Regions from separate parts of the Homo sapiens genome. Here all the other regions are linked to region 2. The links are contacts of gene promoters, found by promoter capture Hi-C in blood cells and fetal thymus (Javierre and others, 2016). All regions are on one chromosome and are shown on one strand. The core of a region is centred on a gene start or on the middle of the fragment in contact, and the rest is flanking DNA. Distances in the headings are between cores, read along the strand shown.

Evidence for each region. The method cuts DNA at HindIII sites, captures the fragments that hold promoters and counts their contacts. A CHiCAGO score of 5 or more calls a contact.
Region 1: a fragment that was not itself captured here is called in contact with the fragment with the promoter of GOLPH3 in region 2 in 3 of 17 cell types (non-activated CD4 T cells, fetal thymus and total B cells); the score reaches 7.9 in non-activated CD4 T cells.
Region 3: a contact is called between a fragment that was not itself captured here and the fragment with the promoter of GOLPH3 in region 2, in 1 of 17 cell types (non-activated CD4 T cells). The highest score is 8.7, in non-activated CD4 T cells.

The regions. Positions count from the first base shown.
Region 1 is chr5:33,443,605-33,448,091 of GRCh38, reverse strand. TARS1 (threonyl-tRNA synthetase 1) reads right to left here. Exons shown (of 19, transcript NM_152295.5): 2 at 2,688-2,768. Among named protein-coding and RNA genes, the nearest start is that of TARS1, 4.9 kb to the right of the region's middle. RefSeq lists an enhancer at 1-321. The HindIII fragment of the contact is 1,323 bases long and covers 2,085-3,407 here.
Region 2 is chr5:32,171,553-32,175,917 of GRCh38, reverse strand. It overlaps GOLPH3 (golgi phosphoprotein 3), which reads left to right and starts at 1,599. Exons shown (of 4, transcript NM_022130.4): 1 at 1,599-2,108. The coding sequence starts at 1,884. RefSeq lists a silencer at 1,706-2,315. The HindIII fragment of the contact is 5,568 bases long and covers 1-2,592 here.
Region 3 is chr5:34,002,041-34,006,538 of GRCh38, reverse strand. AMACR (alpha-methylacyl-CoA racemase) reads left to right here. Exons shown (of 5, transcript NM_014324.6): 2 at 640-783; 3 at 1,805-1,965. It overlaps C1QTNF3-AMACR (C1QTNF3-AMACR readthrough (NMD candidate)), which reads left to right. Exons shown (of 9, transcript NR_037951.1): 7 at 640-783. Among named protein-coding and RNA genes, the nearest start is that of AMACR, 3.8 kb to the left of the region's middle. The HindIII fragment of the contact is 2,842 bases long and covers 739-3,580 here.

The DNA of each region.
Region 1 (4,487 bases), core at 1,497-3,996, 1.3 Mb before region 2:
CCCCTTCAAGGAAAGTATTTACTGAATTCAAAGATGCCATGATCAGCTTGGAGTATGTAATTAGCAACTATATAAAACAACACACTACTACTTTCTATAGCAGATAAAATTAACAAAAATATTCTATATAAAACACCCACTTAGGTTTCTAGAGGTTTGGCAAAGAAAGAAAAAGAGACAGCAATCAGAGAGCTGACTTCTTCTACTGTCACTCTATAATCTATGGAACATTTCAAAAAGGCAGTGAATCTGTGGTAACAAAACAGTCAAACTAACATCTACAGCATTCATCATCTTCAAATTACATGAACATTAACACTTCATACAAAAGTGAAGAGGAGATTGCTTAATTTTGCCATGACTTTCTATCTTCAAATGAATTTCAATCTATCAGATATAAAATGACTTACTGCAATACAGATTTTAACATTTATTCAATGTTGATAATGCTACCAACGTCTCCATACATATGTCTCCATATATATCAACATACCACAATTTGAAAGGAGTACAAGGGAATATCTAATCCTTAAGAAACTGACTGGGGCAGGGCATGGTGGTTCATTCCTGTAATCCCAGCACTTAGGGAGGCCAAGGCAGATGGATCACTTGAGGCCAGGAGTTCGATACCACCCTGGCCAACATGGCAAAATCCTATCTCTACTAAAAATACAAAAATTAGCCAGGTGTGGTGGCGCACACCTGTAGTCCCAGCTACTTGTGGGGCTGAGGCATAAGAATTGCTTGAACCTGGGAGGTGGAGGTTGCAGTGAGCCAAGATTGGGCCACTGCACTCCAACCTGGGCAACAGAGTGAGACCTTGTCTCAAACAAAACAAAACAAAACAAAATTGACTGGAGATAATAGAAAATAATATCAAATGAAAAAGATTAATTGTCTGCCCAGTAATTCCTTCCCTCCCTCCTTCTTTCCATTCTTTAACGACAGGGTTTCACTATGTTGCCTAGGCTGGCTGGAGCGCAGTGACTATTCACAGGCACAGTCACAGCGCATTTTGGCCCCAAACTCCTGGGCTCCAGTGATTCTCCCACTCAGTCTCAAGTGATTGGTTCCTACCACCGTATCAGGCCCTAATATCTTTGTAATTCCCACCCACAGCAGTCCCTCCCTTTCTTTAGTCGTTCAGTTGTTGAGAGCTTTTCATCAAATTATCACAACGGTCCATAACCTTCAATGGTGAAGAACCCATGAATTAACTAAAAGCTCAGACAGAGCCTGTCATTCTACAACCATAATCTGAACCCCTCAGACTAATGCACAGTACCCAGTTCCATCCACTCTAAAGCATCATTATAATCCTACCCACCTGCACCACCCTCTGTATCTTAACTGCAGTTTATCATCATAGCCACTTGCAATGTCCCAATTAGAATTTCGTGTCAAAATCTCTTCAACATTCATTCAGCAGATACCCTCTGTGTCAGTCTCTGTGATTGCAGAGATGAATAAAACCTGCAAGTTGCCCTTGGAGGGGAAGACCAAGGTCTTGGACAGTTCACTGTACACTCTTTTTTCCAGACCAATCGTTAAACATAAATAATCACATGTCCCACTTAAAATTCTCTGTTCAGAAGAGTCTTCTAATTATACTCTTTGTCTTATTTCCAGGTCATTTCTCAAGCTGTGATGGAACAGCACGTATGTTTGTATTGAAAGTATAAAAAAGAAATTAGGGAACATATGCATTTTTCCATTGGCTTGCAAATTTTAAAATTCACAATCAACAATTTTCTTCACAATTACAGTGGGGGTATAATGGTCGGGAGACTGATCAACTGATCAGCCGTAAGATAAATGGTTAGGTAGGGTTCTAAGCAACACTACACTTGATCATCTATAAACTTACCCTAAAGTAAATGACGGCACTATAAATTTAGCAATTGCAGCATTTGTAAAAGTGGCTCTTAAAAGCCAGCTTACTGTGCTACTTCTAAAAAGGCTGTTCCTTTGTGCTTCTTCCTTCTGGTAGCTTTCTAAAGAGTCTCCAATAAAACAGCTGTAATGACTAAAGCAAAAAGTGAAGCACAGTTCACAGCAGTAAAAATAAAGTAGAAAGGCAAGCTTAACTGCCTGTAAAAGCAAAATACTCAGGAACCAGGTTGATTTAGGGCTGGCTTTTGATATGCCAGTTCCTTTCAGTGTGAGCCTGGAGAAGTGAAAGCATTTTCTGCAGACTTGAGAGGCCTTAAGGGGATCTGTCCTGGCTTAGAAGCCAACCCTAGGGCAGGTCCAGATGGAAAGGGCAAGGAGGGGGTCAAAAAACTGGCTTTCTTTGGTTTTCATTGTATTCAGTGTAAGCCCAAACACCAAGTCTCTATTCCCTAACATCTCATTTAATGAAATGTCAGAGCTGGCATCACATCTGGCAACTGAATAATTACCAGTCTCCTCTTCAACTTTTGTTCTCTGATTTTTATATTCAACCCTACAATCAGATCATCTTATACAATCATACGCCAGTTGCTTCCTTTTACAGTAACAACTGAAAGTCTTTTTTCCCCTCTCAGATTACCCTTTCCTAATTCTTCTTCCTGATTTTTCCAACCAGTACCATCTTACACTACCATGTAAACCATTAGAACCCTTACACATTAGGAAAGTCTCAGAAAGTTCCCTGCGATTTGCCAACCTCTGATAACAGAGCCCTCTGTGATGATAACTTTTACCTCAGCTCGACCTCCATCTCCAGATCCTTCTTTGTTCTTCTTTTTGCCTCCTTCCTTTTGCTTCTCTTCACCAGCACCAATCTAAATAAGCAAAAAACGTTTTATATTTTAATCTAATGTGACACCTCCATCCTGTGATGCCCCAGGAAGTGTTGAGAATGTTATTTTAGTATTTGTTATTTAATTTAAAAAAAATGGAAATCTGATATTGAAAGACTGAACAATTTCATCACTGGCAAAGACAGGTTAACAACTTACAATAAAGGCAAGTCTTTAAAAAGTAGGAAGGAGTTACTAACGATGTTTAACTCCTCAAATTTCATTTATTTTATTTTAACTATTCTTGTGACTCTCGCTTCAGGTTTACTTGGACCACATACCAAACATATGGCCACAAGGAAGCACGCAGTTGATTCAGTAAGCATATTTCCAGGGGAAAAAAAAAAAAACTGAATGCAAAGTGTGCCCATGAATTCCACCAGTGCTAACAAAAGCCATGGAAGAAGCAAACATAAGGCCCAATCCCTACCATGTGTAAACCTAGTCTCTCCAGGGAAAGTAAGGCATACATGTGTGAGAAACTCCCGGAGGAGAAAACACAGTAGTAACGCTACGATTAGATGTCAAATAAGCTAGGACTAGCGTTTTAAAGGATGGAATGCATTTCAACAGGTGGATTCTGAGAATACAGGAAATGTGTCCTATGTGTACACATAAGCTTGTTGTCAGAAATGTTAAAATTTAAAGAGAGAAAAAATGACTAAACCAGGCTGATTAATGAAGGATTGTTTTAGAAAGTAATACAAGGTAAGACAGACTAAGGCTCACAGAAGCAAGAACTAAAAGTTACCATAAGGAATACAGACTTCAATTAGAAGCAAGTGAAGTCATAGAAAGTTTTAAAGTAATAAATCCTGTGCCAGGAATGTAAACAGGGATTTTAATTAGTTTGCATGTTTGTGACCTTTAGTTTTCTTAAGTTTTAAGATACAATTCATATACCATACAAGTTACCCATGTAAAGTACACAATTCAATGGTTTTTAGGTATTCACTGTTTTGCAACTATCACTACCATCAATTTTAGAGTATTTTCATCACCCTCAAAAAGAAACCTTGTACCCATTAGCAGTTTACTCCCTGTTGCCTTCATCTCCAGACCCTGGCAACCATTAACCTAGTTTCTGTTTCTATAGATTTGCCTATTCTGGGAATTTCATATAAATAGAATCACACATTATGTGGTCTTTTGTGACAGGCTTCTTTTAGTTAGCATAATAATTTCAAGATCATCAGGTTGTAACATGCATCAATACTTGTCATTGTACCTTTTTATTATCAAATAATATTCCATTGCTTACTTATCCATTTATCAGTTGATGGACATTTTGGCCATTGTCTTTTAAATCCTATAAAATGCGTTACTTGTATAATTAAAAAAAAAACTAATTTTAAAATATGACTCCTAATTTCATGCTGAGCTAAAATCCCCCCTACTCCAGAAGTCTGGATTTAATAAACTTTAAAGGTTCATTTAGATTCAATAGAGCCTTTGTTATACTGCAGAAGTGATGTAACTGATCAAGTATACTGGGTAAAAAGAAAAATTGCGGCTGGGCGCGGTGGCTCATGCCTGTAATCCCAGCACTTTGGGAGGCCGAGGCGGGCAGATCACGAGGTCAGGAGATCGAGACCATCCTGGCTAACACGGTGAAACCCCGTCTCTACTAAAAAATACAAAAAAAATTAGCCGGGCGTGGTGGCGGGTGCCTGTAGTCCCAGCTACTCGGGAGGCTGAGGC
Region 2 (4,365 bases), core at 350-2,849:
CTCCTGATTAACTTTTTTCACATAATAAATTAATTACATTTATTTTACAAAGAAATATTTCAAGCTACAACATTTGGTAAAATCAGAAAAGATGAAGAAAAAAGGTCCAAAGAGGGTGTGGGCTGGCGCGGTGGCTCACGCCTGTAATCCCAGCACTTTGGGAGGCCAAGGCCGGCGGATCACGAGGTCAGGTGATCGAGACCATCCTGGCTAACACGGTGAAACCCCGTCTCCACTAAAAATACAAAAAATTAGCCAGGCGTGGTGGCGGGCGCCTGTAGTCCAGCTACTCAGGAGGCTGAGGCAGGAGAATGGCGTGAACCCGGGAGGCAGAGCTTGCAGTGAGCCGAGATTGTGCCACTGCACCCCAGCCTGGGCAACAGAGCAAGACTCCGTCTCAAAAAAAAAAAAAAAAAAAAAAAAAAGAGGGTGTGAATGGGAGAAATTGGTTGAGGTGAAATCGACCTTCACCAAGACAGGTGGGAAAAAGGGAAGGTCTACTTGGTGTGCCCCCTGGACCCTCTCTTCCCTTCATTTAGCACTGTCACTTTCCAGGGCATGGGATGGTAGGCAGCAGCAGTTCTGGATAATGGATTTGTGGAAGAGAAGAATCCATCTAAAGCACTCTTTAGCCACAGCCCATGATCACTTTTTTTAAAAAATTTTTATTTTTTGCTTTGCTGTTGTTCCACTCTGTCCATACATTGTTTAATACAGGATGGCACACAATACCATTCCTGGTTAAATGTTTCACTTAACAAGCGCCACCCTCTACTCCTCCAACTCCTGTCTCAGGTTTGACAGCTATTTTTTTAACCTAATTTGCGCACGCCAAGAGGATTTCACCTAGTAACTACACGGAGAGACATCCGATGCGTACAAAGACGTGGCATGAAACGCTGCAGGTTTATTGTCTCTATAAAAAGATCGTTAAGGTCGAGCGTGCTAACGTGTGCGGTACTAACTGTACTCACTACGCCCTGGTCACTTTATAGCACAAGTCCGAGGCAAGGAAAGAAGTTTTACAAACAAAACTGGTCAACTGTTCTATCTTCTTACTCCTGGAAAACAATAAAGGTCCACTTTCAAACCATTTGGACGCACTTGCTCCTTCTAAAGGGTTAGGGAGTCCCGGCAGATAGCGTACCCCTCCCCGCCCAGCAGCAGAGAGCAAAGTCCTTCCTGCCGATCCTGCAGACCCCGGAGTCCAAATGGGACCCCGTCCACACGACCGCGGAGTCGCCTCCGAAGACGGCGGTGTCTGGGGCGTGGAGGGCACGGCTGGAGGCTGAGTGGGGTCCACCTTCGCGTGGCCCAGGCTCTTCCATTCACGGGGGGCCCCGCCAGGTTCAGGCTCCAGCCCTGGGTAGTGAAGGGGAAACGGGGAACGGAAGGAGGGAGGGCACGTCACGGGAGCAGGACTGCAGGACCGCGGGTCAGGGGGCGCAGGAACGCCAAAGAAAAGACAAGCACCGAGGGCCGGGAAGGGTGTAGGCTGCAGTGGCAGCGGATCCCCGGCCGCCGCTTCCGGCGCCTCCCGGCCCAGCTCTCCCGCGCCGACTCTGCCACATCCTCCGGTGACGTCAGCCGGGGCCGCCATATTGGAAAGGCGCCGCCGCCGCCTCCGCCTTGGAGCTCGGGGTGTTTCGGGGACTGCGGCCACAGGCAGGAAGGCGCTCCTCTCCTGCCCCGCCGACGCCCGGCCAGCCCGCTTCGCCCTGACCTGTTTCCTCATGACTGCCCCCGGCCCTGCTGCCGACGGACGTCGCCCCGGCGTCCGGATTTAACACGGAAACCCGGATCGGAGGCCGCGCGGGGAGGAGGAGGGCGACCCGGTCGGTCCTGCGACCCTCTCGGCCCGGCTCGGCGCCTCGGCGGGAGCCATGACCTCGCTGACCCAGCGCAGCTCCGGCCTGGTGCAGCGGCGCACCGAGGCCTCCCGCAACGCCGCCGACAAGGAGCGGGCGGCGGGCGGCGGCGCCGGCAGCAGCGAGGACGACGCGCAGAGCCGCCGCGACGAGCAGGACGACGACGACAAGGGCGACTCCAAGGAAACGCGGCTGACCCTGATGGAGGAAGTGCTCCTGCTGGGCCTCAAGGACCGCGAGGTGCGGGCGCGGCGGGCTGGGCGGGGGGCGGCGGCGCGGGGCCCGGGCGCCAGGTGAGCTCCAGGTAGGTGCCAGGTGAGCGCCCGAGGCTTCCGGCCCGCGCACCTGCCCTCGCTCCGAAGTCCGCGCCTGGTGGCGCCCAGCTGACGCCGAGCGGTGTCGGAGTTGGTTGACCCCCTGGCGCGGCTGGTGCTTTCTGGATCCTCCCCGTAGAGATGGCTTGGATTTTTCCTTACCCCTTTCACAGTCGCTCCTTTCATTTCGACACCCTGGCAGTTTGTATTTCTTCGTCGCCTTTTTTCCGCGTTTTTAACCCGTGTAGACCCCAGGGTGCAAATCCAACCCGGAGACTGCCCGGGAAACTAACAGCTGGAGCCACCAGCGCCACGAACTCTTTGGGTTTTTGCAGGCTTTAGGACCTGGGAGGGGTGCCCGGATCTGCTTGCTGGGGATGTTTTTTTTTTCTTCTTCTTCAGTTAAAGCTTACTGTTGGGAATTACGAAAAACGTAGGCGAAGTGGTAATAGAGGGAAAAGCTCTTTTACTGAGTAAAGTTAAGTTAAGTTTCTCATGAAACCTCCTGGTAAATGACTTTCTAGGTGAACTTACATTAGGTGAGAGATTATTTTTAGTATCGCTTTTATATTTTATCAGTTGATGAATCTCAAAGTCTTGCCGTCTTAAGAAAGGGCTTTTTCATCGAGTGCTTGAAATGTAGGTTTGTGAGTTGATCAGAGGCCTCAAAGCTTCAGGTGGGTTGAAGTTGCAATAGATAATTCTTTGTATTCTGACTTTGAAAGCGTTTATTTTCACTTCAGTGTCCAAAATTTTCACACACAGAAAAGTTGAAAAAGTGATAGATACATATGCATATATACTCTTTCTAGATTCTATGACGTTTTGCTGTATTTGTTATATTTGCCTACAAAAATGATTATTTATTTATGTGGAGACGGAGTTTCGCTCTTGTTGCCCAGGCTGGAGTGCAATGCCGCGATCTCGGCTTACCGAAATCTCCGCCTCCCGGGTTCAAGCGATTCTCCTGCCTCAGCCTCCTGAGGCAGGCATGCGCCACCATGCCCGGCTAATTTTGTGTTTTTGTTTTGTTTTGTTTTTGAGACGGAGCCTCAGTTTGTCGCCCAGGCTGGAGTGCAGTGGCGCGATCTCCACTCACTGCAAACTCCGCCTCCCGGGTTCAAGCGATTTTCCTGCCTCAGCCTCCCGAGTAGCCGGGACTACAGACGTGCGCCGCCATGCCCAGCTAATTTTCATACCTTTAGTAGAGACGGGGTTTCACCATGTTGGCCAGGATGGTCTCGATCTCTTGACCTAGTGATCCGCCTGCCTCGGCCTCCCAAAGTGCTGAAATTACAAGCTTGAGCCACCGCGCCCAGGCCTGATTTTAAGAAAGTTTTCCAAATTCAGGAAGGTGGGCAAAAAAAAAAAAAAAGTCTTACAAAACAACGTAATCTTTCTTGGTCACTGAAACTTACTAGATATAGGCGAGTTTTATATGGACCGTTTATGGACCTTTCTTATTTAGAAATCTAATGAACTAACGGTTAGCTTGATAGATACGTCTGGGGCATTTGCCATATCTTGGTTTCCCATTTCTCAGGTTTTAATAACAGTAACCTTGAAAAAAGTTGATGTTCCTCTGGCTGTGAAAGGGCTGCTGTACCTGTTTAATTATTGAGTTGTGATGATAAAGCAGGCTGTATGTGCAGTTCCTTGTTCTTTGGATGAAAAAGTAAACTAGGGGTATAGCGTCCTAGTAATGTAATTTTTAGAAAATATTCAACTTTAGGTTTCAAAATTGGAAATCTTGATTATAAACATTTGTCTTTTTTTTTTTCTTTTTTTAGACGGAATCTCGCTCTGTCGCCCAGGCCTGGAGTGCAGTGGCGCCATCTGGGCTCACTGCAACCTCCCCCTCCCGGGTTCAAGCGATTCTCCTGCCTCAGCCTCCCAAGTAGCTGGGATTACAGGCATGCACCACCACGCCCTGCTAATGTTTTTATTTTTAGTAGAGACGGGGTTTCACCATGTTTGTCAGGCTGCTTTTGAACTCCTGACCTCAAGTGATCCACTTGCCTCGGCCTCCCAAAGTGCTGAGATTACAGGTTTGAGCCACCACGCCCGGCCATAAACATTTTTCTTTTTGGACAAAAATAACATTATTATAGACATTTTAGAAAATACAAAAAAAAAGAAAAGCAAAATTAAAACATATTCCTGAGTGAACATTTTGGTTTATA
Region 3 (4,498 bases), core at 910-3,409, 1.8 Mb before region 2:
CCTTAGGAAGGTAAAGATAGTGAGTTTATTATGTAATTTTGATTACTTTTAATCCCAGGAAATTTCAGGTGCTGGTTACCTGGGGTTTGTGCTATAAATACTATACTTGTTGATAGCTTAAAAACTCTCAGGTGCTATTGTCACTAACCACTCTTTCTACAGATGGGTGCTAAACTTTTTCGTGAAGGTACTGATGCTAGGCACTTTAGCGCCTGTGGAAACATCAGGTGTAAATTCTGCAGGAGGAGCTCATGAGCTGATAGGGAAGATAAGTGTATGCATGTACAAGCAAGTGCAGCTAAGGTGGGATGTGGTAAACACTGATGCGGTATAGAAAAAGAGAAAAGGGATTTACTAAAGGGATGAGACCCTGCTCTGGGGATTGAATAAATAGGCTTGGATAAACCTAGAGGGAAACAGAGATGTACTGGGAGAAATTACATCCTGGGAAGAAGCCACACATTCCAGAAATGGTGGCTTCACTCTTTGAGTCCTTAACTGCTGTAAACATGCCATTAGCCTACAGCAAATGTTATTAATATTACTTGCAATGGTGCTATTTTATGTTTGTCTCAGAGAAGGGATTATCTCCATCCTCAATTCATACTCTCTTAAGAAGATCGTTACTTTTCTCTTAAGGTGTCATGGAGAAACTCCAGCTGGGCCCAGAGATTCTGCAGCGGGAAAATCCAAGGCTTATTTATGCCAGGCTGAGTGGATTTGGCCAGTCAGGAAGCTTCTGCCGGTTAGCTGGCCACGATATCAACTATTTGGCTTTGTCAGGTATGTTGAAAAAAAATTTAGTCTACACTTTTAATTTATTCCATCAAGATCTACAGGTATGTTGATTAACAATAATTTGTAAAGGTAAAAATTTAAACATTTATCAGAATCAATCAAGAGAGCATGGGTGTTCAAAATGGATCGGTTTGAGTCTTGAAACAATCATTCTCAACCTTCCCTCACCCCATCCCTTAACAGGTTGGAAGGTTAATACATGCCCACTACTATCATTTATTTACTACATTTGTTGAGTCAATTCTCAGACAAACCCCTGCTAGGAATTAAGAGGCTTACTGGGTACTACGGATGGTTGCTCTGTGGTTTGAAAATGTTGACATAGTTAGATTCTGACAGCTACTTCTCCCCCGGACCCCGAAATCTCCACCCACCATATTGAGAATCATTGCCTGAGTCATTGTTTCAGACTTCTATGAGCACTAAAAAAAGCCCATGGTTTTCAGGTCCTAATATCACTTTATTAGAGTTTTTGCCTGTGACGACATGTGAGATAGGCCTGATTCCAGAATTCTAAGAACCATGTGTTGTTGACTATAGGACATTTCAGATTTTCTGTGAGTACACATTTAAAAGTTGAGGAAAGAAGTGGGTATAGAATTGTCTCTTCACATCTACTTAAAAATTAAATTCCTTTTTTTTCTTGTCTGCAAGTATTTTCTTACATTTCTTTATGCTAAGAATGAAAGTGCATTTACTGTTTTAAAACCACAAAATAAATAATCATTTTCTTTTCCAAAAGTAAGTGAGTAAAAACTTAGCAATATTTGAAAATGTTGGTTGGAATAGGTTTTAGAGAGGAAAACAACAAAACAAGGATCCTGTCTTGAGGGAAAGCCTGTTTATGAGTTTACTGACTAAGCTCAGATTTGGAAAAGTGATGTATACTAGCTTTCACTTAGATTATCTGCTGGAGAGATTGATTATTCCTCTAAGATGCTCACATATTTATTTTAAGAAGAGATTAAATTTAAAAGAGACATTAAATTTGTTTTTAATGATGTAGGTGTTCTCTCAAAAATTGGCAGAAGTGGTGAGAATCCGTATGCCCCGCTGAATCTCCTGGCTGACTTTGCTGGTGGTGGCCTTATGTGTGCACTGGGCATTATAATGGCTCTTTTTGACCGCACACGCACTGGCAAGGGTCAGGTCATTGATGCAAATATGGTAAGTATTAATTGGGGTAGATGCCTGCCACTTGTCCCTAAGTTTAAGATATAGCTGCTTAAAATCCTTTTTTTGAAGAAGAAGACAAGAGATAAATGACATTTGAAGTTTCAAGCCAGGTTACCAAGGATATCCTTTTCTTTTTAAAATAGACTTATGTCTTTTATATATCTGTTAGAATGTCATATTTTGATCATCTGTCCTTGGAGTCAGTTCTCTGAACTTTCTGTGACTCATGTGATTCCTACGTTGTTTTAGGTTGGTGCAAAAGTAATTGCAGGTTTTGCCAAATATTTGCCAACCTAAATATTTCAACAATTTTCCCCAAGTATCTCTTGTGCTTAGTATATCATTTTCAAGCAGTCGTCATTCAAAAAAAGTTCAAGAAGTCTCCCTCAGCTGGTAGAGAAAATTCTTAGGAATGCTAAGGTCAAATGGACCTCCCTGTCTAAACCTTCCTGCTGCGTTTTATAGGGGATGCTCTGATATCATAACACTTCTGTTTGTTCACTGTCATCCACTGAGTGCTTGCCTCATGTTCTGCTGAGCACATTCCCTGTGTGATTTCTTCTTATTCTCAAAACTGCATTTGGAATACCTTGTTGTTTTAAAGAGGAGGGAACGGAAGCATTGCCATTTGCTCAAGATCTCACAGCTAGTGGGTAAGAGAGCCCACTCCAGCACCACCACTGCGTGTTTGCATTTTCACAGACATTTGGAGGTGGGATGGAGAATGGATCTGAGGAGACAAGACTGGAGGTACAGAGACCAATGACTGGGTTATTGCTGAAGAGATCAGGGCAAGTACTAAAGCAGTTAATGGTAGAGTTGGTTTGCATTGAAGGGACATTTGAGGTATAAAATTGCTGGGAATTGATAATGGACTGACAGGGAGCGAAGAGGGAGAAGTTGAGGCTGGCTCCCAGGTTTCTGGCTTAGATGACCTGCTAGTGTCTTGAGGGAAGACTGCTGAACACAGTGGTCAGAGCATAGAGTGGCAGCTGACTACCTCCGTCCCAGCTCTGCCATTTACTAGCTCTGTGATCTTGGGCAAGTTACTTAACCTCTCTGTGCTGTAGTTTCCTTTGTAAAATGGAGATAATAATGACATCCACCTCATAGCATTGTTAGTTGCTATGAGAATTCAATGAGTTCATCCATTGTTCAGTGTGGGAACAGTGCCTGGCGTACAGTGGGCCCTCTGTAAAAGTTTGTCATTGTGGTTATTTTTACTAGAAGAAAAGGAACTCAGTTTTGGTCTTTTCAGTTTTAAAGTGCCTTTCAGATATCCAGGTGGGATACTTGAGGTTAGGGACTAGAAACAGATTTCGGAGTTATTTGGGAGCCATATGAGACTATGTGATCCACTAGGAAAGGGGATAGAACACCGGCATTTAAGGAATGCGTGGGCAGAAAAGAGAAGCAAGGGCTGAGGACAGCTAAGGAGAGAAGCAGAATGGAGTGTTGTCATGGAAACCAAAGAAAGGAGTGGTCAGAGGGTCAAATGTTGGTGGATACCTCAAGAGTTTAGAGACTGAGAGTGTCAACTGGATTGGGTCCTGGCTGATCTTCACAAAATCCATTTTCTACCAGAAACCCCCTCATCTCCAAAGCTTCAGCCTGCGCTTCCTTCTCCTGTTCATGGTGAATCATGACCAGCCCTGTACTGAGTGTGTGCCTGTGGGACACTGTCATCAGGGCACATCTCACACTTTCCAGTGTGCCCTCTCTGAAGTGTGTACCAGCAGCAGGGGAGTGTGGTTTATCTTTTGTGGGCCAGCTCTTGGCGTACTCATGGCATAGTCGCTGCATGAGATAGCAGCACCGGATTTATACCAGTACCCGCCAAACTCAAGACCGGTACCTTCCACAGGGCTTCTGTGATCCACACAGTTCCCTGAGGGAGACGTGCTACTATCATTGGCATTGAAGACTTGAAGGCTTGGCGAGGTTAACTGCCTTCCTCTAAAGCAGATGACGGGAAAGGGTCCGAAGCACTGCCCCAGGCAGTTGGACCCTAAAGCCACTGCTTTCAACAACTTCCCCTGCTGCCCCAAGAGCATGGTCCCTGGGGTCCAAAAGGAATGAACTAAGAGCAAACATGGAGTCTTGGGAGTGTTAAGGAGAATTTGAGCCTAGATACTTCTCTAGTAATAATTTGAATAATTTACTGAAGAGATGCAATTGATTATCATCAAATATAAATAAAAGGTGATTGCTGCTTTCAGCAGAATGTAGCTAATCAGAATTATATAATGATTAGAAGATAGTAAGGTTGGCTGGGCATGGTGGCTCACGCCTGTAATCCCAGCACTTTGGGAGGCTGAGGTGGGTGGATCACCTGAGGTCAGGAGTTCGAGACCAGCCTGGCCAACATGGTGAAACCCCATCTCTACTAAAATACAAAAAAGTAGCTGGGCTTGGTGGTACGCGTCTGCAGTCCCAGCTCCCTGGGAGGCTGAGGCATGAGAATTGCTTGAACCCAGGAGGCAGAGGTTGCAGTGAGCCGAGACCACACTACTACACTTCAGCC